Linked DNA regions of Homo sapiens: regions 1, 2, 3, 4, 5 and 7 are each linked to region 6. Evidence: promoter capture Hi-C in 16 types of primary human blood cells and fetal thymus (Javierre and others, 2016). All regions are on one chromosome and are shown on one strand. The core of a region is centred on a gene start or on the middle of the fragment in contact, and the rest is flanking DNA. Distances in the headings are between cores, read along the strand shown. Region 1 has its middle 5.7 kb from the start of GPR150. Region 2 overlaps MCTP1 (multiple C2 and transmembrane domain containing 1). Region 3 overlaps MCTP1 (multiple C2 and transmembrane domain containing 1). Region 4 overlaps MCTP1 (multiple C2 and transmembrane domain containing 1). Region 5 overlaps MCTP1 (multiple C2 and transmembrane domain containing 1). Region 6 holds the start of MCTP1 (multiple C2 and transmembrane domain containing 1). Region 7 has its middle 4.5 kb from the start of RFESD.

Evidence for each region. Contacts are between HindIII fragments. The CHiCAGO score rates a contact against its expected background, and 5 or more counts as called.
Region 1: a fragment that was not itself captured here is called in contact with the fragment with the promoter of MCTP1 in region 6 in 1 of 17 cell types (megakaryocytes); the score reaches 6.6 in megakaryocytes.
Region 2: a fragment that was not itself captured here is called in contact with the fragment with the promoter of MCTP1 in region 6 in 3 of 17 cell types (M2 macrophages, megakaryocytes and monocytes); the score reaches 7.9 in M2 macrophages.
Region 3: a fragment that was not itself captured here is called in contact with the fragment with the promoter of MCTP1 in region 6 in 2 of 17 cell types (monocytes and M1 macrophages); the score reaches 5.7 in monocytes.
Region 4: a contact is called between a fragment that was not itself captured here and the fragment with the promoter of MCTP1 in region 6, in 5 of 17 cell types (megakaryocytes, monocytes, M2 macrophages and 2 more). The highest score is 11.4, in megakaryocytes.
Region 5: a contact is called between a fragment that was not itself captured here and the fragment with the promoter of MCTP1 in region 6, in 1 of 17 cell types (monocytes). The highest score is 6.1, in monocytes.
Region 7: a fragment that was not itself captured here is called in contact with the fragment with the promoter of MCTP1 in region 6 in 1 of 17 cell types (megakaryocytes); the score reaches 5.9 in megakaryocytes.

Annotation. Positions count from the first base shown.
Region 1 is chr5:95,612,831-95,615,844 of GRCh38, forward strand. No RefSeq gene overlaps it. Among named protein-coding and RNA genes, the nearest start is that of GPR150, 5.7 kb to the right of the region's middle. The HindIII fragment of the contact is 4,485 bases long and covers 1-3,014 here.
Region 2 is chr5:94,949,751-94,952,491 of GRCh38, forward strand. The region is part of intron 3 of MCTP1 (multiple C2 and transmembrane domain containing 1); the gene reads right to left. Among named protein-coding and RNA genes, the nearest start is that of MCTP1-AS1, 28 kb to the right of the region's middle. The HindIII fragment of the contact is 4,291 bases long and covers 1-2,741 here.
Region 3 is chr5:94,931,922-94,935,003 of GRCh38, forward strand. MCTP1 (multiple C2 and transmembrane domain containing 1) reads right to left here. Exons shown (of 23, transcript NM_024717.7): 6 at 32-70. Among named protein-coding and RNA genes, the nearest start is that of MCTP1-AS1, 45 kb to the right of the region's middle. The HindIII fragment of the contact is 4,524 bases long and covers 1-3,082 here.
Region 4 is chr5:94,972,268-94,975,284 of GRCh38, forward strand. All of the region lies in intron 2 of MCTP1 (multiple C2 and transmembrane domain containing 1), which reads right to left. Among named protein-coding and RNA genes, the nearest start is that of MCTP1-AS1, 4.9 kb to the right of the region's middle. The HindIII fragment of the contact is 2,436 bases long and covers 418-2,853 here.
Region 5 is chr5:94,992,382-94,995,081 of GRCh38, forward strand. The region is part of intron 2 of MCTP1 (multiple C2 and transmembrane domain containing 1); the gene reads right to left. Among named protein-coding and RNA genes, the nearest start is that of MCTP1-AS1, 15 kb to the left of the region's middle. The HindIII fragment of the contact is 1,423 bases long and covers 675-2,097 here.
Region 6 is chr5:95,283,778-95,286,808 of GRCh38, forward strand. MCTP1 (multiple C2 and transmembrane domain containing 1) reads right to left here and starts at 1,317. Exons shown (of 23, transcript NM_024717.7): 1 at 79-1,317. The coding sequence starts at 798. RefSeq lists silencers at 406-525, 606-665. The HindIII fragment of the contact is 7,244 bases long and covers 1-3,031 here.
Region 7 is chr5:95,640,924-95,643,644 of GRCh38, forward strand. No RefSeq gene overlaps it. Among named protein-coding and RNA genes, the nearest start is that of RFESD, 4.5 kb to the right of the region's middle. The HindIII fragment of the contact is 1,327 bases long and covers 687-2,013 here.

The sequences.
Region 1 (3,014 bases), core at 450-2,949, 330 kb after region 6:
CCTTAGTGGGATGGGTGTACAGACAGAGAGTGGCTGCCTCTTGAGGACAAGCATAAAACCCAGGACTTTTTGTCATACAAAGCAAAACACATCTGCCACTGGGGCAGGATCAGAAAACACTCTCACCCCCAGTCCTCAGCAAAAGGTCAGCTGTCACTGGGGAGGGGTAGATTACAGCGAAAGCTATCACTGCTAAGCAAGATGGAGAAACCTATTCATGCCCAGAATCTTTGTTACAAAGCAAAGGTTTCTCACAAAAGGGACAGAACCAAGAAATTTGCTCTTGGAAGTTACAAGACAGAATTCAGCTGCCATAGAGGGAAGGGACAGGATTATGGAGAAACTCCCACACTTGAGGCTCAGGCCCCCAGGGCCTGAATAAGACAAAGGTTGGAACAGGAAGGCCAAGAAAGCCACCCTGCCCCCATCATGGGCAGCAAACAGCACAGAACTTCTGGGAGAGGGGCCAAAGCCTGGAAAGAAACATCCCCGTCCCCTCCCCCACTCTGGTGGCCAAGTGTGAAGGGCCAGCTGAAAGTTGGGGATGGAGCAGAAACACTGAGAAAAACCTTCTACCATTCCAGGCCTCATAGTTGAAACGCAAGATGTCAGTATGGAGGAATATGAAGTCAACAGTATAATAATGATAACTGTAGTAACAACAAAATCTAAACCTAGCTCAACTACTGATTAGATTTACCACCCTAGTAGCCTGATGAGTGAAGAGGCATGGCCATTTTCAGAAGTAAACACTATTTACATCAGTCACTCTTATTCTTTTATATATAATGTCTGGCACTCAGTAAAACTTACAAGGCAAAAGAGTTAAAAAGAAAAAAAAAAAAGAAGCCAATTTTCAAGAGATAAAGCAGTAAACAGAACCAGACTGAGAGATGGCCCAGAGGTTGAAACTGTCAAAGTAACTGTAAAAATGCTATGATTAATATGTTAAAGGATTTAGTGGAAAATGTGGACCACATGCACGAACATATACAGAATTTCAGCAGAGATGGAAATGATTCAAAAAAGAATAAATTGGATACACTAGACATGAAAAACATGTTATTATGGATGAGGAATTCCTTCAATTGCCTTATCAGCAGACTAGAGATAGAAGAAAGAATTAGTAAACTTGACTACAGGTTAGAATAGAAAATTTTCAAAATAAAATCCTGAATTTCAAAAGGTGGCAAGCCCCTCTGAGGAGAGCTGGAACAGAGAGGGGAAAAAAGAGAAAAAGAAAAAGTGGAGAAAAATAGAGCATCCAAGAGCTGTGGGACAGTATGAAATGGCATAATATACATGTAATTCAAGTCACAGAAGGAGAATAGAAAGAGATAAAAGGTCGGAAGAAATAATTGAAAAGATAATTGCTGAGAATTTTCCAAAATTAATAAAAGACAACAAATCACCAACCTAAATGTTTAGAGAAGCCCAAGCAGAATATATACAAAGGGCTAGGCCCGGTGGCTCATGCTTGTAATCCCAACATTTTGAGAGGCCAAGGCGGGTGGATCACCTGAGGTCAAGAGTTTGAGATCAGCCTGGCCAACATGGTGAAACCCCATCTCTAATAAAAATACAAAAATTAGATGGATATGGTGGTGCATGACTGTAGTCCCAGCTACTTGGGAGGCTGAGGCATGGGAATCACTTGAACCCAGGTGGCAGAGGTTGCAGTGAGGCAAGATAAGGGGAAAATCTTGAATGCAACCACAGAAAAAAAGAAACACTCCAAAAAAAGAAACCAGCCAGGCACGGTGGCTCATGCCTGTAATCTCAGCACTTTAGGAGGCATAGCTGGGCAGATCACCTGAGGCCAGGAGTTCGAGACCAGCCTGGCCGCGTGTGGCACTCACCTGTAATCCCAGCTACTTGGGAGGCTGAGGCATGAGAATCATTTGAACCCGGGAGGCAGAGGTTGCAGCGAGCCAAGATTGCACCACTGCACTCCAGCCTGGGCGACAGAGCAAGACTCTGTCTCAAACAAATAAACAAACAAAAAGATAAGAATTACATCATTACAAAGATGAGCAAAATGTATCAAGCACTATGCAAACTAGAAGACAATGGTGCAACTTCTTTCAAGTACTGAAAGAAAAACTCATCATAGAATCCTATATGCCCAGCAAAAGTATCTTTCAAAAATGTAGGTAAAATAAAAACTTTATAAGACAGAAAAAAAAAAAAAGAAAACTAAGAGAATGTGTTGCCAGCAGATCTGAACTATAAGAAATGTTAAAGGACATTCTTTAAGCAGAAGGAATATGATCTCAAATGAGAAACTGCATCTACGCAAAGGGAGAAACTGGAAAACTCATACAATGATGGTGGGAAGGGCCCAGTCTCTATGGAAAACAGCTTGGCAGTTCCTCAAAAAGTTAAACATGAAATTCACATATGACTCAGCAATTTCACACCTAGGAATATACTCTAGAGAACTGAAACAGGCATTCGCAGAAAAACTTGTACACAAATATTCATAACAGAATTGTTCACTATAATGAAAACAACCAAAATGGAAACAGCCTAAAATAGAAACAACCCAAATATCCATCAGCTGATGAATGGATAAACAAAATTTGGTGTATCCACATAATGAAATATTATTTAGCCATAAATAATGAAATACTGTTACATACTACAATGTGGATGAAACTTAAAAACATTATTCAAAGCAAAAGAAACCAAAAACAAAAGGCTACATTATGTGATTGCATTTCTATGAAATGTCAAGAATAACCAAATCCATAGAGTCAAAGGAGACTAGTGGTTTCTAGGTGCTGGAAGAGGAAAATAATGTGTACGGGTTTATTTTGGGAATGATTTAAAAGTTCTGGAATTAGATAGTGGCAGTGGTTGCACAAACTTGTAAATATACTAAAAAGCACTGAATTGTATACTTTAAAATTCTAGATTTTATGATATATAAAGTATATCTCAATTTTTAAAATGAAGAAATAATGAAGTGTTTTCATCTATGAGAATGACAAACGCTGATGATGCTCATATTG
Region 2 (2,741 bases), core at 115-2,614, 330 kb before region 6:
CTATGTAGTTCACAGATGCATTTTCATACTCTCAGTCACTACAGAATTGATTAGTCCCTAAGAAATCTTTTGGGCAAGATTAATAATCTGTTGTGGAGGATGTGGGCATCATATCAGAACTGAGTCACTCAAACACACAGGCCTGCATAGAGACAATAAAAATGATGCAATTTTTATGAAATTCTAATAACTTCAAATGTTATTTCCACCAAGGTACCTTATTTGATTCTTCCCCTAAGATGAGGCAAAAAATGGAACACAAATAATGGAAAAAATAAAGCAAAAAGTTAGAGATTTTCTTTCAAAAAAAGCCCTAGGCATTTTACAGAAAATGAAAATCAACTGAAAAAAAATAGGAAAGCATTTAGAAAGTATATTTAATACTTTTAAAATATTATAAAGTATTGTATATAATAAAGTGACATCATTTTATATGTGTACTAGTATCTCAGAGACTTGTATGATTTCTATTTAACTTAATTGTCTTTCTCATATAGAAATGTAAAAAGTGACAATGTAAAAATGTAAGTAAAGTATAAAAATATTTAAAAGTAACTGTGTATCCTCTTCTGTATGGTAGAAGTTAAATTGTGGCTAGGCTACATAATCTTATATATTGAAAGTTCAAAGTGATTTAAAAAAAACCCAACAACCTTTGGGCTTGCTTTCTTAGTTTCTTTACTCATAGTGTGTGATTAACCAAGCCTTCTGGCCTGCATACAGTGTTGCTGTCTTCATTTACAGTTTATGTACATTTATAGTATATGTATGTGTACTGTATATATGCAGACTATATATATAGAGTATATGTATAGATACATACATATATACACCTATACTGTATATTTATACATATACATACATACATGTATATTCTTGCTCTCAAGTCAAGACCATTTCTGCCACAATTTAAAAAATTTTGGCCAGGCGCGGTGGCTCGTGCCTGTAATCCCAGCACTTTGGGAGGCCGAGGAGGGCAGATCACGAGATCAGGAGATCGAGACCATCCCAGCTAACAAGGTGAAACTCCTTCTCTACTAAAAAATACAAAAAATTAGCTGGGCAAGGTGGTGGGCACCTGCAGTCCCAGCTACTCAGAGGCAGGAGAAAGGCGTGAACTCAGGAGGCGGAGCTTGCAGTGAGCCGAGATCGTGCCACTGCACTCCAGCCTGGGCGACAGAGCAAGACTCTGTCTCAAAAAAAAAAAAAAAAATGATTTTGTGTAAATTTATGGGGTACAAGTACAGTTGTGTTACATGTGTAGATTGTGCATAGCAGTCAAGTCAGGACTTTCAGGGTATCCATCATCTGAATAACATACATTGCACCCATTAAGGAATTTTTCATCATCTAGCCCCTTGCTACCCCCTCATCCTTCCAACTGTCCAGTGTTTATCATTCCACTGTCTATGCCCATGTGTGCACATTATGTAGCTCCCACTTACAAGTCAGAACACCACCATTCTTTTTTTGTGTACTTCAGTTTTTTGTTTATTTCTTTTTGAGCCTAGTAAGACATTCCTTTTGAAAAATGCATCTTGGCATTTGGATTTCTACATAGATGAATACTTATTCTTGAGCACAAAAGAATAAGAAAAGCACCTGACCAATATCTAATATAATTTGAGGAAATTCATATGTAACCCTTTCAAAGACAGGACAGTCACATGGTTCTTTCATGGAGTAATATCCCACTAAGTAGAAGTAATTAAAAATAAACTTCTTTCTTCTCATGATTTTTCACTTCAGCAACATTAATGAGATCCAAACAGCCTGTTGCTGTCCTTATTAATACCTGCTTTCTTTCCTGACCATTTTCTTCATACCTGCCATTGCTCTAACTCATGTCTCCTGATCTCCCACCTCCCCACCCCAGAAATAATACTTCCTTCACAGCCCACTTGTCTTTTCTTTATTCCTTTTTCATTGCCTATCTCAGCTCTTTATTACAAAGATAATTCCTTTTTTTCTCATGTGGATATTTCTTTCTCTCTAGAAGTGAGGAGCAGGGCAGAAAAATCTCTGACCACAAAGGTCTTCCCTTTCGTGGGAGAAGGGTTGGCTACGCACACTCTCATATTAACGTTATTGTGCCATCCCATATTATGTAGTTAAAGACAGTTCAAAAACGCTATTTAAGGCCGGGCACGGTGGCTCATGCCTATAATCCCAGCACTTTGGGAGGCCGAGGAGCACAGATCACTTGAGGCCGGGAGTTCAAGACCAGCCTGGCCAGCATGGTGAAATGCCATCTCTACTAAAAATACAAAAAATAACTAGACATGGTGGTGGGTACCTGTAATCCCAGCTACTGAGGAGGCTGAGGCAAGGGAATGGCTTGAAACCAAGAGATGAACGTTGCAGTGAGCCAAGATCGTGCCACTGCACTCCAGCCTGGGTGACAGAATGAGACTTTGTCGCAAAAAAAAAAAAAAAAAAAAAAGCTATTGAATTGATTTTCTTTAGCCAGTGTCCAATGGAGACAATTTATTATGCAAGTGTGTGTCTATTTGCCCCATAATGACTTATAGAAAATTAACTGTATCCTTATGTATACTTATGAGATTCTCTTTTCAACCTTCTTATAAGCTACCCTCTTGTAATTTCAGTAACAACTTGATTATTTCTTGTTCCTTTCTGTGGAGGAAAGAAACAACTAGAGGTAATACAATGATGATATGAGGGGAAGAAGTATGCCTAGTGATTGCTGAAAGATGAGATTTCTGGCTCATGTGCCAGTA
Region 3 (3,082 bases), core at 243-2,742, 350 kb before region 6:
AAAAGCTGAAAGATCACAAGCTAAGAATTACCTTACTTGATCTTTTCCAACTCTTCCTCATTAGCATTGTCTGTAAATAAAATAAAGCATTTTCATTATCTTTTCACTCAAGAACAGAATAGGGCAGCCAGTTGTTTTTTAGCGGAAACATTTATTAGCCCTTGAAACAGCGAACAGTTCCTGCAGCAATTATACAACACAAAACTTGTTTGCCACGCACACACAACTAGAGAAACAACTTTAACATTCCAGCAGTCTTTCTGGTGAGAGTTCATTTGATTTATTCCTTTGTAAAAAAAAAAAAAAAAAAAAAAAAAGGAACAGTATCGGGATGCCTTTATTGACTGAAAAAAAACACATTGAGTCTCATAATTTCCAATGGCTCCTTTTGGTGGTGGAGGTTGAGGTTGTACATGACTTGAACAGGTATATAATAATTTTTCTCTTCAAACACATTCAAAATCTTTTGCTTGGATGGCATCGTAGAATTGTCTCTGTTTCCAGTTAATCTTTAACTACATCAGGGCCTACAAATGCTTTCAATTAAAAACAAATGCTGCATACTGTGATGGCTACTAGTGTATTTTCCTGCTAAACGTTTAGTGAAAGCATATCCTTTAAATTAGTTAGCTTGTGTCATACTAAGAAATATGTATGGCCAAAAGTTTTAATTAAGGTTCTAGAGCTTTGTAATGCATCCCCAAGATCACTAATCTCTTGAATAAACTAAATCATAAAAGCCCAACGAATTTTTTTGTTTTCTCTCTTCACTTTAAAAAATTTCTCAATGAACACTGAAGTATTAACCTTCCTGATTAACCTCTTTCCCCTCTCTTTGCTTTACTATTATGTTTAAGGCAGATGAAGTGGAGAATAGGAAATATTCAGGGCAAGGAATATAGCTTAAAGTGCTTGTGCCATATTTGTGTATCAGGGAAATGTACTTTAAGAACTGTATCTCTTTCAGGAGGATTCACCATAAAAAAGAACCATGTCAGAAACTATTCATGGATTAGAATAACACAAAAATGAAAAGATTTTTAATATAAGATGAGGGCAACCTTTAACCTAAACCACAAGAATGAATTTAGACATTCTAGGGTAAAAACTAAGACTAGCGTAACATTTTCAAAGATAATTATATGTTCCTCTTTTATGTTTTCAAAGATAATTATATGTTCCTCCTTAACAAAGACTGTTAAATGTTGACCAAAACATAAAAGAATAATAGATTTCCTAAGGTTACAATGATTCCTCATCACGCCTACTTTTTTTTTTAAAGTCAGGAAACTGCAAAGCACTGTTATCAAATACTATTATAGAAATACTTTATGTTTTCAAAGTACTAAATGTCCAGTTCATTTTGAAGCAACAAATCCCAGCATTGGGTTATAGAGGTGGCCATCTAGGGGGACATGTACTAAATCTTTACTTTTGATGTTACATGATTTATTATCATCAGTATCATCATCATCATCACCACCACCATCACTTCCTCCATCATCACCAAAAGGCAACTGGAAACCAAATATTTAAGTGGTATACCATATTTACAAAAACTGCCCCATAAGAGTTGGATAATAAACACTCAACTTTCTCACCAAGCAGAGTTTCAATGGACAAAGAATGGTATATCCTAGAGATGATATTTTGAGTCAAATCAATCAAGAACTATTAAGATACATAAAAAGTACAATCTACAATTCATGGTCACTTATCATCATTATCTAGCATCTAAGAATTTTATAATATAAAATTCCATTATATAAGAAATGTTATGCTATGTAAAAGGGCCTTAGAACATTAGAAAGAGTGAAATCTCATGGCAACACTAGCCAATATTACAAGGATTCCACAAAGTCACATCCCCTGACTCACAAGGACCACATACAATTAACCTTCTATAGTAAACAAAACATAGGACCAGTATTTGTCCTGTCTCTCAAAATCAGCTTTATAAGCAGGCTGCATGGTTTTATTTTTCAGATTGAGAAACTGATACAATAAAAAGTCAGTGATTACCCTAAGTATAAATAGGAAAGATTTAGCAGTTATGAGAACCCATTCACTATTTTCCTAATTCAGTATCTAAAGTTCTATTACTATATCCAGTAACTCTCAAAATGACCCTAGATTTTATAACATTTCTGCCTCTTGAGCCAAATCTACTACCAAAGCAATGGGTTTAAGTATCTCACTTCCAAGTCCCTTTTTCTTTTAGGTAGTTGAGTTAAGGTCGATTCAATAAAACTGAAAACAGTAGAAAAATTAAAAAGAAAATTTAATATATATACTATTAATAATGTTTTCTTTGCTATCTGTGAGACATGTTAGAGAAGAAAGATTGGGGATTGTGAAAGATAGAAGATGAAGCAAATTATAGAAAAATAAGATTTATTTTTTTGCTCTATGATCTTAACTTCAGCTGAGAAACATATGAATTAATTTTTGAAAGGATTATTGCCTGATATTATTATAGTACAATTCAAATTCTTCATTAGCAGCTCAACTTCCTTGAAGCCAGTAAAAGGAATGAAGTAGCATAAAAATATGGCTTGTGATAGAGCTGCAGAAGTAATTGTTTTTAAAAGACTCCACGATCTCAATCCATTTTTTAATTTTTATCTTTTGTTGAAGTGACTTTTTAAGGCGATTATATAACTACTGTACATATAAAGAAATCACAGAATTAGATACAATAGTAACATACATCTTGTAAAGCATACATATATCAACTTTTTGTAGGTAGATATTTCTTCAAATGTTGGCTGTGTAATAATTCTGAAGAATATCAAAACTAATCCAAGATAAAGAAGTTTTTTTTTTTTTTTTTTACTCATCAAAGGCCAACTGAGATCATTCATATGTTTCTTTGAATTTTCTATTTTTTAGCCTTAGGCAAGCAATTTGTAGGTCTAGGTTATTTAAGAGAGTGTGTAACACAAATTAACTCACTTTTATTTCACAAATTCTCCAATGAAGAAAGCTGTGGATTGAACTCTGCTAGAAAAAGAGCCAGAAAGAACTCAAACACACTATCAGACAAATTGCCATATATAGGACACACATATATGCACTACAC
Region 4 (3,017 bases), core at 386-2,885, 310 kb before region 6:
ACAGGAGTAAATTTTTATCATCTTACACTCTTACCATGGAGACTATGGATCCTAATTTGTCTTCTGTGGCAGGTTGAACCCTTAACAGCCATTTTCCCCCTTTCCCTTCACTATCACTGAATAGAGTCTCTGTGAGTTTTAGCGGAATGCCTGGTCCTCCCTTCAGAGAATATCTTATTCTCCAAGCAACAGGTGTGGCCATGTACCCATGTCCTTCCTGGTAGGATGTGAGAATAAGTGACCTATGCAACTTCTGGGTCTTATGGTGAAAATGGAGCAGTTGCTTTAGACAAGAGATGGAAACCACACAGTGATGAGAGCAGAACCATATCATCAGCTCTAGATCTTTCTGGGGTTCATGTGGAAGAAAATATAATTTTAAAAATTATCAGAAAAGTTGGGTCTCTTGTTACCAGAAGCTTAGTTTGCATCCTAAATCATTCTAATTAAGAAACAACTTTTCAAATAGATTTTCCTTCTAGAAAAGCATGTTTCTTAATTAGAATGATTCATATGACTTCACAGAGCCAATCAATTTTGTGTGAGTCCCATTCAATTCAGTTTAATAAGACTATGGGGGATGAACCAGCTTTTCCCATAGCCTGGCCATTCTTAGGCAAGGGGGTTTCTCATTTACAGAACTGAAAGGCAAAGTCCACTAAATGAACAAAAAAAAAACCACTGGGTTGAGGAGGGAGAGAACTAACTTTCTTGAGTATCTACTGTGTGCCTTGTGCTTTTAATACAATATTTTATTTAGTTATAACTCTAGCCCTGTGAGTTGGGTTAAACTAGCACAAAGGAGGCATCTAATAAATGTTTGTCAAGCAAATGAATAAATTAGTATTCTCAGTATTTTACAGATGAGTAAACTGGTTCAGAAAGATTAGGCTGCTTGACCTGGTTACCTAACTTGTAAGCAGTGGCAGCTCTAGAATCCATTACAAGAGCTATTTGATTCTAGATTCCAAATTTACTTCATTACACTGTGATGCCTAACCATCGTCATCTTTTCCGATCAACCGACTTGTCCCGTCTACCTCAAACTATTATTTTTGGGCTCAGCCCTTCCATAATCTATCTCCTGGTTCCCCCATGAGAGACAAGATTGTATACTAGGGAAGCCATGGATCTCAATCAATTTGGCAATTATTAATTCTGTGCCATTAGCATAACAGAGTATTGGTTACACCCACTCAGTGAATTTGACGGGGAAGATGAGTTATTTAGTGTCTTTTGTCTCCATTAGACCAAAAATAGTATGAAGACAGAGACCATTTTTGCATCCCAGAACCTGCCACAAAGCAGGTACTCAAGTGCTCAATAAATATTTGTTGGCTTGTATGAATGACATACATTACTGTTAATATATTACCTTTGCTAAGCTAGGCACTTATTCAGAAGCCTAAAACTGGGTGTCTTTCTGCAACAAATAAAATTGCTTAATGGTGCTCTATAGAAAAATATAATTAAAAGGTATGAGATTGCTTAGTATATTTCTGAGGGGGATGAAAAGGCTCATGACCACTCCATCTGTAATAGAGATGGTTTAGTGTGGTACAGGGTAGTTCACAGTTCGACCTCCAAGTTAGAAAGCCTGGGTTCCAATCTCTGCTCCTGCACTTACAAGCTGTGTGGACTTGCACAAGTAGAAGATGCACATAGATAGAAATGGAGACGATTATAGAACCTCCTTAAGGTCATTGTGAGGGTTTAATTACATAATACATATCAAGTACTTAGCACAGTTCCTCCCACAAAATAAACATTCAATAACTATTAGCAATTTTTCTTCATCTTACTCAACATGAAGACAAAGTAATATAATTACTTAACAATCTGAAAACTTGACTCAATATAATTAAATTTAAATAAAGAACTACAAACATATTAAAATGGTTATCAAATCTCTGATTTCATATGTGGAATGATTTATTTCAATTGAGATAACAGTTACTAATTATCTATTTTTCCTAATCATTTAGGAATACATAAATAGAACAAGCACAGTGTCTCACACTTGTAATCCAATGCTTTGGGAGGCCACGGTGGGAGAATTTCTTCAGGTCAGGAGTTTGAGACCAGCCTGGGCAACAACAGTAAAACCCTGTATCTACAAAATTTTTTTAAAAAATTAGCTGGGCATGGTGGTATGCCTGTAGTCCCAGTTACTTGGGACACTGAGACAGGAGGACTGTTTGAGTCTAGGAGTTGGTGGCTGCAGTGAGCTCTCATTGTGCCACTGTACTCCAGCCTGGGCAACAGAGCAAGACCCTATCCCTGAAAAATAATAATACATAAGTATACAGCAAAAAGTAGTAATTATTATTTTCAGAGGATTCATTGGCTTTGTTAAGTCAAGAGAAAAAGCCTATAATTAATTACAAATATTATATAAATAAACCTAAGTATCAAAAAAGTGCCATTAAAATAACCAGATCCTATAGAATATATGCATGAAAAAAATGATTATGACCCTAAAAAAAACCAAAAAAATCTCCTTATCAGCTAAAACCATAAGTAATAACAATACAAATAGTTGCACGACTTTTGTAGATTAATTACTATCATTAACTGGAATAATTTCAAGCAATTATATTACAATGTGATTAAAATACATCACAAATGACCATGGTAATGAAATAATACATTTCTTAGACTATTCATATATTCACTTTGAGAAAAAAGGCAAGCCAATGGTCTTCTATTTGTCTCCATGCTTCTAGTCTTCCTTATTTCAATTCATTCTCCAAAATCTTACGATTGTTTTTCTGTTATTCCCTTGCTTTTAATTCTTCATTTCTTTCTCAGTGATTTTAGAATGGATCAGGGAAGGTGTCCAAGCAGCAGTGAAGCTTGAATAAATACTGAAAGAAGACTGGCCATGGTGGGGTAGGACACTCAAGACAAAGGGAAAGGGGTGAAGAGGGGCACAGCATGTGTTATGGACTGAATGTTTATACCCCCGCAACTCCCTGCCAAATTCGTAGGCTGAAACTCTAGTCTTCAATGTGATG
Region 5 (2,700 bases), core at 136-2,635, 290 kb before region 6:
ATCTACTCTTTAGAACAAGTGTAGGAGGCAGATGCTTTTGTTATCCCCATTTTGAAGCTTATTCAGTGACTTAGTTCTGGTCTGACACCAGACCTGTGCTGTAGCAAATGCTGTGGGTAGCCAGCCATATCCTGTCTGCACTCTCAGTTCTCCTACACAGTATCTCCAATTCCAATCTCAAGCTCCTACGACTTTATGCAGCCACAGGAGTGCGTTTGGCCCATGCATAGGCCAGGCCACAGGTACAATGTCTTTGGGAGTAGGGCTTAACAGATGGCAAATGGGAATTGCTAAATAAATACCCATCTTTTTGGTTCCTCAGTGGGACTTGCTGAGAACTCTACACTTGTCCCAGAGGTCCCAGAGGCCCTCTTAATTCACCCTGTGTTGGCCCCCATCCCTTCCCCATCTCAACCTTCCTTTTATCTGCCTTAGCACTGCTTTCCGGAATTGTCTCTCAAAGAAAGACAAATTCCTGTCTCAGAGTATGCTTCTGAAGAACTCAACTTAAAAACATGGTCTTTTCTTCTATGACAGACTGCTAATAAAATATCATTTAAAAGAAATTAACTGAAGTTTGAGAATTTTTAAACTTGATTATGCTTTTGGGAAAAGCCATTTATTTTAGTTATTCTTATAACTTACACTCACAGAATTTCTTTAATAAAGAACAAAGCTTTGTTCATTCTTTTTCAATTCAACTAGGATTTATTTTCAGATAACTTTTTTTCAATACGTAGTAAGTTCCCAAAACACTAGAAGTTTTAGAAAAAGTTAAACATACAATGTTTGTAGTCATTGCCTTTGAGTACATTTTGACATAAAACTAGAATCCTTTAAAATACTAAACAACTCAGCAGTCTACACTTTAAAAATGTTTAGAGGGATAAATTGATCATTCTTCAACTATGAAGAAAATTTCACTTCAGGTCATAATTACGGAGCATCTACACGTATTCACAGTGGACAAAATCTATGCAATACAGAAGTGTAAAACAACACCTGGAACATAATAAATGATGAACTCATGCTGTAAAGATAATGTCTCTTTTTTTCCCAGGACTATTTTCTCTTCATAGAGCCATGACTTTACATTTCAAAGGGTTGCAAAGACCTAGGAACCTTCCCTTATTTTCCCAAGAGATGATTTGTTTATATTAGAAAAACTAAATCTTTTTCTCTCTCTCAAGATGGGATGAGGGGCTGCTGTGCAACAGCTTTTACAGAAACTCTAAATGGCATAGTTTTGGGGCTCCTCTCCAGCAATCCAACCCACTGTAAATGCAGCTGCCATCTGTTCTCATTGCATCCCTCCACAGGGGGAGAGTACAGATGGGGAACTGAACCGTAAATAATGTCTGGCCTCTGATCTAGAAACTTTGTGTTTGCTTTTAGGATGAAATAAAGAAATGTAGGCATTAAAAACTTATCAATAAAATGTTCTTGGGAGTGAATCTTTAAATTGGCCTGCAAAGGGCCTTTTCACTTGCAAACAAGATTGCAATAGATTTCAGACACATGCTCAATAACTAAATTGACTAAACGGTTTTTTCCCCACAATTCTGGGAAGACCCATTGAAATTCTCTGCTTCATAGGAACTACCAAAGTCAAGCAGATGTCAACCTTTCGATTAAGGAACAACACAAGAACACGCAAGATTCTGTCCTCCTAAGAGCAGCTATGACCAACAAACTACCAGACTTTTCAAAGACATGGCAATTTGAGCTCAGGTTCAGAGCTCCCTATGTCAAAGTCTATGACCATTTGAACTGGCTCTTATTCTGTGGTTTATGGTATCTTGTCATCTAACCGTAGGCCTTAGAGAAATGAAATTGGCCTGAAGGCCTGAGTGAGGCTGGAGGGACAATTTAGTATACAAAGGACATCAGGAGCTCCAGGAAGAAGAGCCAGAGAGTTTCACGGGTATCTAGAGAGTGTCTTAAATCTGAGGAATTCTGTGGTCTGTGTTTTGTATTTGAGGAATTCCATATAGCTGTGTTACTAGAGTGTGATCAAAACTCTTAGGAAAATAGCCTACGGTGAGTAAATAATCCTTTACTGAGATCTTTTGGCTACATTTGTAGTTTGTCCTAGGAAGCTTTTTTAACATACAGTTTGTGGTCATAGTTTCATTTATTTACCTATGTGTTAAAATTGTATATAGTAATTGGTGTGGCAGTTTTCTGTTTGTCTGCCTGTGACTGCAAGTGATTATCTGTAGTGTGTGTATGTTGAGGGGTGTGATGGTTAATACTGAGTGTCGACTTGATTTGATTGAAGGATGAAAAGTATTGTTCCTGGGTGTGTCTGTGAGGGTGTTGCCAAAGGAGATTAACATTTGAGTCAGTGGACTGCAAAAGGCAGACCCGCCCTCCATCTGGGTGGGCACAATCTAATCAGCTGCCAGCAGGGCTAGAATAAAAGCAGGCAGAAGAATGTGGAAGGACTGGTCTGGGTAAGTCTTCTGGCCTACATCTTTCTCCCATGCTGGATGCTTCCTGACCTTGAACATCAGACTCCAAGTTCTTCAGCTTTTAGACTCTTGGATCTACACCAGTGTTTTGCCAGGGGCCCTTGGGCCTTTGGCCACAGACTGAAGACTGCACTATCGGCTTCCTACTTTTGAGGTTTTGGGACTAGGACTGGCTTCCTTGCTCCTCAGCTTGCAGACGGCCTATTGTGGGACTTCACCTTGTGAT
Region 6 (3,031 bases), core at 67-2,566:
GCTCCCCGGGTGGTGAACGCCTGAAGAGGGAGGCGTGGTCCCGCGCACCTTGTCTCCGGCCGCGCCACCGGCACTCACCTGGCTGCTGCCGTGCTCCTCGCCCGTCTCCGGGGCCCGAGACTCCGCGGGACTCCGCGCCGGCTCTGCGGGAGGAGGCGGCGGCTCCAGCAGCTGCTCCAGGCAGGCGGTGCCCGGCAGAGAGGAGCTCTTCTGGTGGCACAAGTGCGCCCCGGGGCCCTGACGCCGTGCACCCTCATCTCGGGCGCGGTCCCCCCTCGGGGGAGGCTGGGGCGAGGAGGACAGGGAGGATGAGGCGGAGGAAGAGGAAGGAGCTGAGTCGGGGGAGCGTCCGCCAGGAGGCGTCCCTCCCGCTGCTCCCGAGGCCGCCGCGGGCCCCTTTACGGCGGGGAGCAAATGCTCGCGGATCCGGCGGCGTAGCGTGGACCCCTGCTCGGCTCTGCCGGCGCCGCCGGGCTCCAGGGGCTCCGGCGACGAGCAGCACAGGTTGGGCTGCGAGGAGGAGAAGACTCGGTCCAGCACTTGCTTCCGCTTCTTGAAGCCGCTCCACCTGCTGCCTGCACCACTCCCCCTGGCCGGTGCATTCCCTGTGCCCACCGGGGGTGGCGGGGAGGGCGACGGGGTGTCCGCAGTGCGGCGCTCTGGACCCCCAGCGCGCCCGCCCCCGCCGCCCTTGCTCCTGCCCACCCCCAGCTGCAGGTTCTTCCAGAGCCGGGCCTGGAAGGAGGAGGACGCCGCCGGCGGCTCTGGCTCGCCCGCCGCGGCAGCCCGGGGCTCCATCCTCCACCCCCTGCTCCTCCTCTCCCCTCCTCCTCCTCCTCCTCCTCCTGCTTCTCCTCCCTCTTCGGCTGCACCTCCTCCCGGGTCCCCGCGGCGCTGGCGGTGGCGGCGGCGGCGGCGGCGGGCGCAGCAGCAGAAACCGGGAGTGCCCAGCGACTTCAGGCCAGCTCGGGGGAAAGAAGCGGCCGCCGCCGCCGAGGCTCTCTGGCCTCGGGACTCCGGCGCTGCCTCTTCCTCCCGCACCTGCTGGGGTGGGCTGGAGCCGTAACCGAATCCCGGCCGCGGCGCCTGCAAAGTTTTTCCCTCGAAGCTCCGCGGCTCCAGTCCACTGGCGTCCCCCAGGCCGCGCCCTGGCTCCCTCTTCTCTCTGACCGAGCTCGGGAAGCTGCACGCACCGGGGCGTGCGCGTCCAGCTGCGCCAGGGACCGCACCCGGCGCCCTCTGGGCAGCACCTGTCAGCGGCGGGGGCGGCTGCCTCCAAATTGGGCGCGCACGCGGCTCACACAACAAGGCGCGTCTGGCTGGAGACTCCGGGGACCAGCAGTCCCCCTGGGGCGCCCCGGGACCATCCTCCAGCTCCTAGGTGGGAGGGCCGGTAGGAGCCGGGTGGAGCTAGGTAGGGCCCGAAGCCAGCTTGCTCCCTAGGATCCGGCCACAGTTGCCCAGGCAGCTCGCTGTGCGCTGGCCGCTGGCCGCGCTGGCGATCGTCTGGGTCGGATGAAGCGAGCTGGAGTGGAAACTATGTGCCCTCGATGGGTCTCGTGGGGGCGCCGATCGTCCACACTGAGCGATGAACCCGACGGAGTTCTAAAGCTGAAGACGTCTGCCCCCGCCCCGTTGCGCTCCCTGGGTCCAAGACGAGAGTTTAATTTCTTCTGTCTTGACTTCATCCCCATCCACCCCTCCCTTTTCTTTATTTGCCTCTGCACTGGTCTCTTATGATCAGGTTCTAGCATTTCCGGAGTCTGACGATAAAGCCAGCCCTTAAGTTGCAGGGAGTTTACGGTGGACGAAGATGGGTGATGCGCACTGCCTTTGATCCGATTCGGCACGCACAGAATCTTGTTCTTTTCATTCAAGCGCATTTTTTCTTTGGTTACTTCATTTGCTTGTTGCAAGGCAAACGGAAAAGGCTTTTTAGCTCATTCAGACTTTGCTTCTCCCAAAGCTGCTCAGCCAGGGTCTTCTGATTCTGCTAGGAGAGACTTCTGAAAGGCCAGCAACACAATGCCTCTTTCGTCCTCCTAAATGGGGAAAACGGGAGAGTTCCCTAAGCTGCGGTAGCACACTGATCAGTCTTGTCTAGCTAGCAGTATGCTTTGGAGGTGTTACCAACCTAAGTTTTTTGTTTTGTTTTGTTTTTGTTACCTTTATAACAAATATTTATTAAGCACCTACTATATACCAGGCACTGTGATAGGCTCTGGGGATGCAGCTGTGAACAGGGCATCAGGGTCCCACCCACATGGAGCTTATTGTGAGGGTGAGGGTTGGGAGGTGATGCGAGACAATAAACAGAATTTCTAATATGCAAAAGTCCCATGGAAACAGTTAAGCAGGGTACCACATAACAGAGTGGCTACAGAGGAAGAGCTTCCAGACAAAATGCAGGACACCCAATTAAACTGACTTTCAGAGAAACAATGAATAATATTAGTATATGTATGTCCCAAATATTGCATGGGACATACTTATACTAAAATACTATTATTTATCTGAAATTTAAATTTAACTGGGTGTCATGTTTTTGTTTGCTAAATCTGGCAGCCCCATATGGAGAGGTTTTTGGTTTTTTACATTATGTGTACAGGGAGAGTCTCTCTGAGAAGATAAAATTTTGAGTTAAGACTTAATGAGGACAGAGAACCAGCTATTGACGGATCTGACTGTAGAATTTCAGGTAGAAGGAACAGCAGATACAGAGGTCCTGAGGCAGGAAGCAGCTTGACTGGGCATATTCAAGGACAGAACGATACCACTCCAAATAGAGTAGAGCAAGGTGGGTGGGGTTGGTAAGAGATGTAGTGAAACAAAAGGTCAGCTAAGGGAGTGGGTCCTATAGCCAGAGTGAGAGTCCATGTTTCCTCTAAATGAAATTGGGAGACATTAGAGGTCTTTTTTAATCGTGAGGGTAATGTGATGTGATTTACTAATACTAATGCCAGGTATTAATAAATAGCCTCACAGGGCTATTTTGAAGATTAAGTGGAAAAAGGACTTAGCTCAGTGCCTG
Region 7 (2,721 bases), core at 100-2,599, 360 kb after region 6:
GAAGGAGGAGTGACCAAGGTGGCTCACAGAGGAGTGTCAGAGCCCTAGTGGGATAGATGGCAACATGGTGTAGTGACATAGCACGGCCAGCTCAAGCCCAGTGGGAAGGGAATCAAGGGGCAGCCTACAGAGGCTCAAAGTCCAGTCTCTGTGATGTGCCTTCATTACCTGAATCTAATCAGGAGGAAACATCAGATGAACTCAAACTGAGGGATATTCTACAAAATGAATGGCCTGTAATCTTCAAAAATGCAAATATCATAAATGTTAAAGAAAGACTAAGGAGATATCTCAGACTGAAGAAAGCTAGAGACATGAAAACTAAACATACAATCTTGATTCTGAACTGAATTTGAGGATTAGATGGTAGTGTGTCAGTGTTAACTTCCTGATTTGGATGGTTGTATTGTGGTTATGTAGAAGAATGTCCAGATTTGGAGAAAATACATACTAAAGCATTAGGGACTGACGGGGCATCAGATTGGTACTATACTCTCAAATGGGCGTTTGGGAATAGAGTTTCCCTGTATTTTTCTGTATTTTTGTGTTTGTTACCAAATTATATATAATTATATATGTGAGGGGTAGGGGTGAGAGGGCGAGAGCATATGACCATGTGAACACATTACTAGTGTCCCTCAGGACCTCAGGATCTTGGAAGGCCCCATGCAAATATGGGAACCTGAAGCTTCAGTTTCATCAATATCACTACCTCTAACTGCAGCAAACCTGACTCTACCCACTACTGTCTGAAAGGCCAAAGTCCTTAAAGACATAATTTAGACCTTGTCTTAGTTATACCTGCTTTCTTAGGTCTTTGTGGCCTCCCTATCTCTGCTAACACTCAGTGTAGCAGAATGAATATGTTCTGAATGTTGTTGAAGGTCAAGGAGCAGCAGCTTGCACCCGAGGCCCACGTCACCTAAAGCTCTCTGGGGTTTGCCTTTGCTGGGCCCACATAGCTCTGTTGTGTGTATTTGCTAAGCCTGGCTTGGTACAAATGGCCAGTGTTTTGCTTCAGGCTCAATGTAGGTTCGGTGGTATTTGCTGATCAGACTCTCTTCTCCACACCCCCACTTACGTCAGCTGTGTATCATTTGCTTAATGCTCAGGACTTGGAGTCCCACCAGGAAGATAAAAATCAGCAGTGAACAAGAAGTGTTTCAGCTAGTCAAATCTCCAACCTTCACTCACTTCTCCTGGTATGCTCAGCTTAGCTCCTTTCTTCTTTCTACAGATTTGTGTACCTGTAGAGAGGGTACAATCTAGTCTGTCCGCTAGAGAGGACAGTTTTAAGAGAGTTTTGATACATAAGTTTAATTCAGGAGGCTGTTAGTCCCTTTGGCTGCATGTTTAAGCCACCCCAATTGAGACGTTCATAATTAAATAAAGCTCACACCTTGATCTCTTTCTGTGTCTCTCAACTGGTTCCAAACTCAGGCAGAAAATAAAAGAAAGGTGTTATTGGGCCCTCTCAAAGTCCAACACAAATAAAAGATGATGGTACCTTCAGGGTGGTGATAGCAGATAAGGTAAGAAGCGGTGTGATTTCAGATAAATTTTAGGAAGAATTGGCAGGACTCAGTGCTGGATTAGATATGGGGGGATATCAAGGGTCCCTAAGACCCCCTTCACATTTGGAGATTCACTAGATTCTGGGACTCATTACAGTTACGCTATTACAGAAACGTAGTAAGGATACACAGCTGGATTGTAAAGAAAAAGACTCAGGCAGAGCATGGAAGACTTCGTGTGCAGGATTCCTAAGTGTTCTCCCTTTCGCGAGGGGTCACACAGACTGCATTCTTCCTCCAGAAATGAAAATGTAGAAACATGCCTGCAATGTTTTTGCCAGGGAAAGACTGAGCCTCAGCAGCCAGAGTTTTTACTGGACATTGGTCACAGGCACCTCTGCCTAGCAGGTACCAAGTTCTAGAATCTCAGAAGGAAAAGCAAGTGCATTGTTTGTACAAATAGCTTACGCACAGGGAATCACTTTTATTATTTAGGGAAAGCTTTGTATGTGTAGGTGTAGGTGTCGGATAAACTCACCTGATAGTAATAATTTATGCATACCCTCAGAATGACCCCATATGGCAGATGCACCTGAATGTATGTTCTGAGCTAGGGAATCTGGGAGTAGCTAACCTGAAGAGTCATTCTTTATCTATGAGAAACATCTAATATAGGGGACTGAGGCCCTGAATTTTGGGATACATGAAGGTTGCCAGGTGGAGATTGTTAGGGGGAGGGTATAAAGTGAAAATACCATATAAACTGCATGATGGTTGCAGGCGGTTGCAGTTTTCCTGCCCATCCCACCACCACTGGACTCTGTAAGCACCTAATAAAACACCATGTTTTGTTTGCTGGCTCTAGGTCTCTTCTTCGGCCTCTTGAACCTGGTTCCTTTCCTACTGAGGTTAATAGGGCTTTGGCACGACAGTAAGGGACTGTTTACCTGCCAAGTTCTCACATGTCAGCGAAGGGCCAACCTTACAAGCAGACCTTTTTAAGGATAGCAGTCTCAGGTCAGCTATGCGAACTCCTTTCTCTACAGACGGGCAGGAAGGGGTGCGACAAGGAAAAGGGAAGAGTCAAGGAAGACATGCAGATTTCTCCCTTAAGCCTGAAGATGGACAGTGTTGTCACTTATAGAGATGGAGAAGACAAAGAAATGCAGATTTATGGGAGAGAACTAGTATTTCGATTTTGAACACA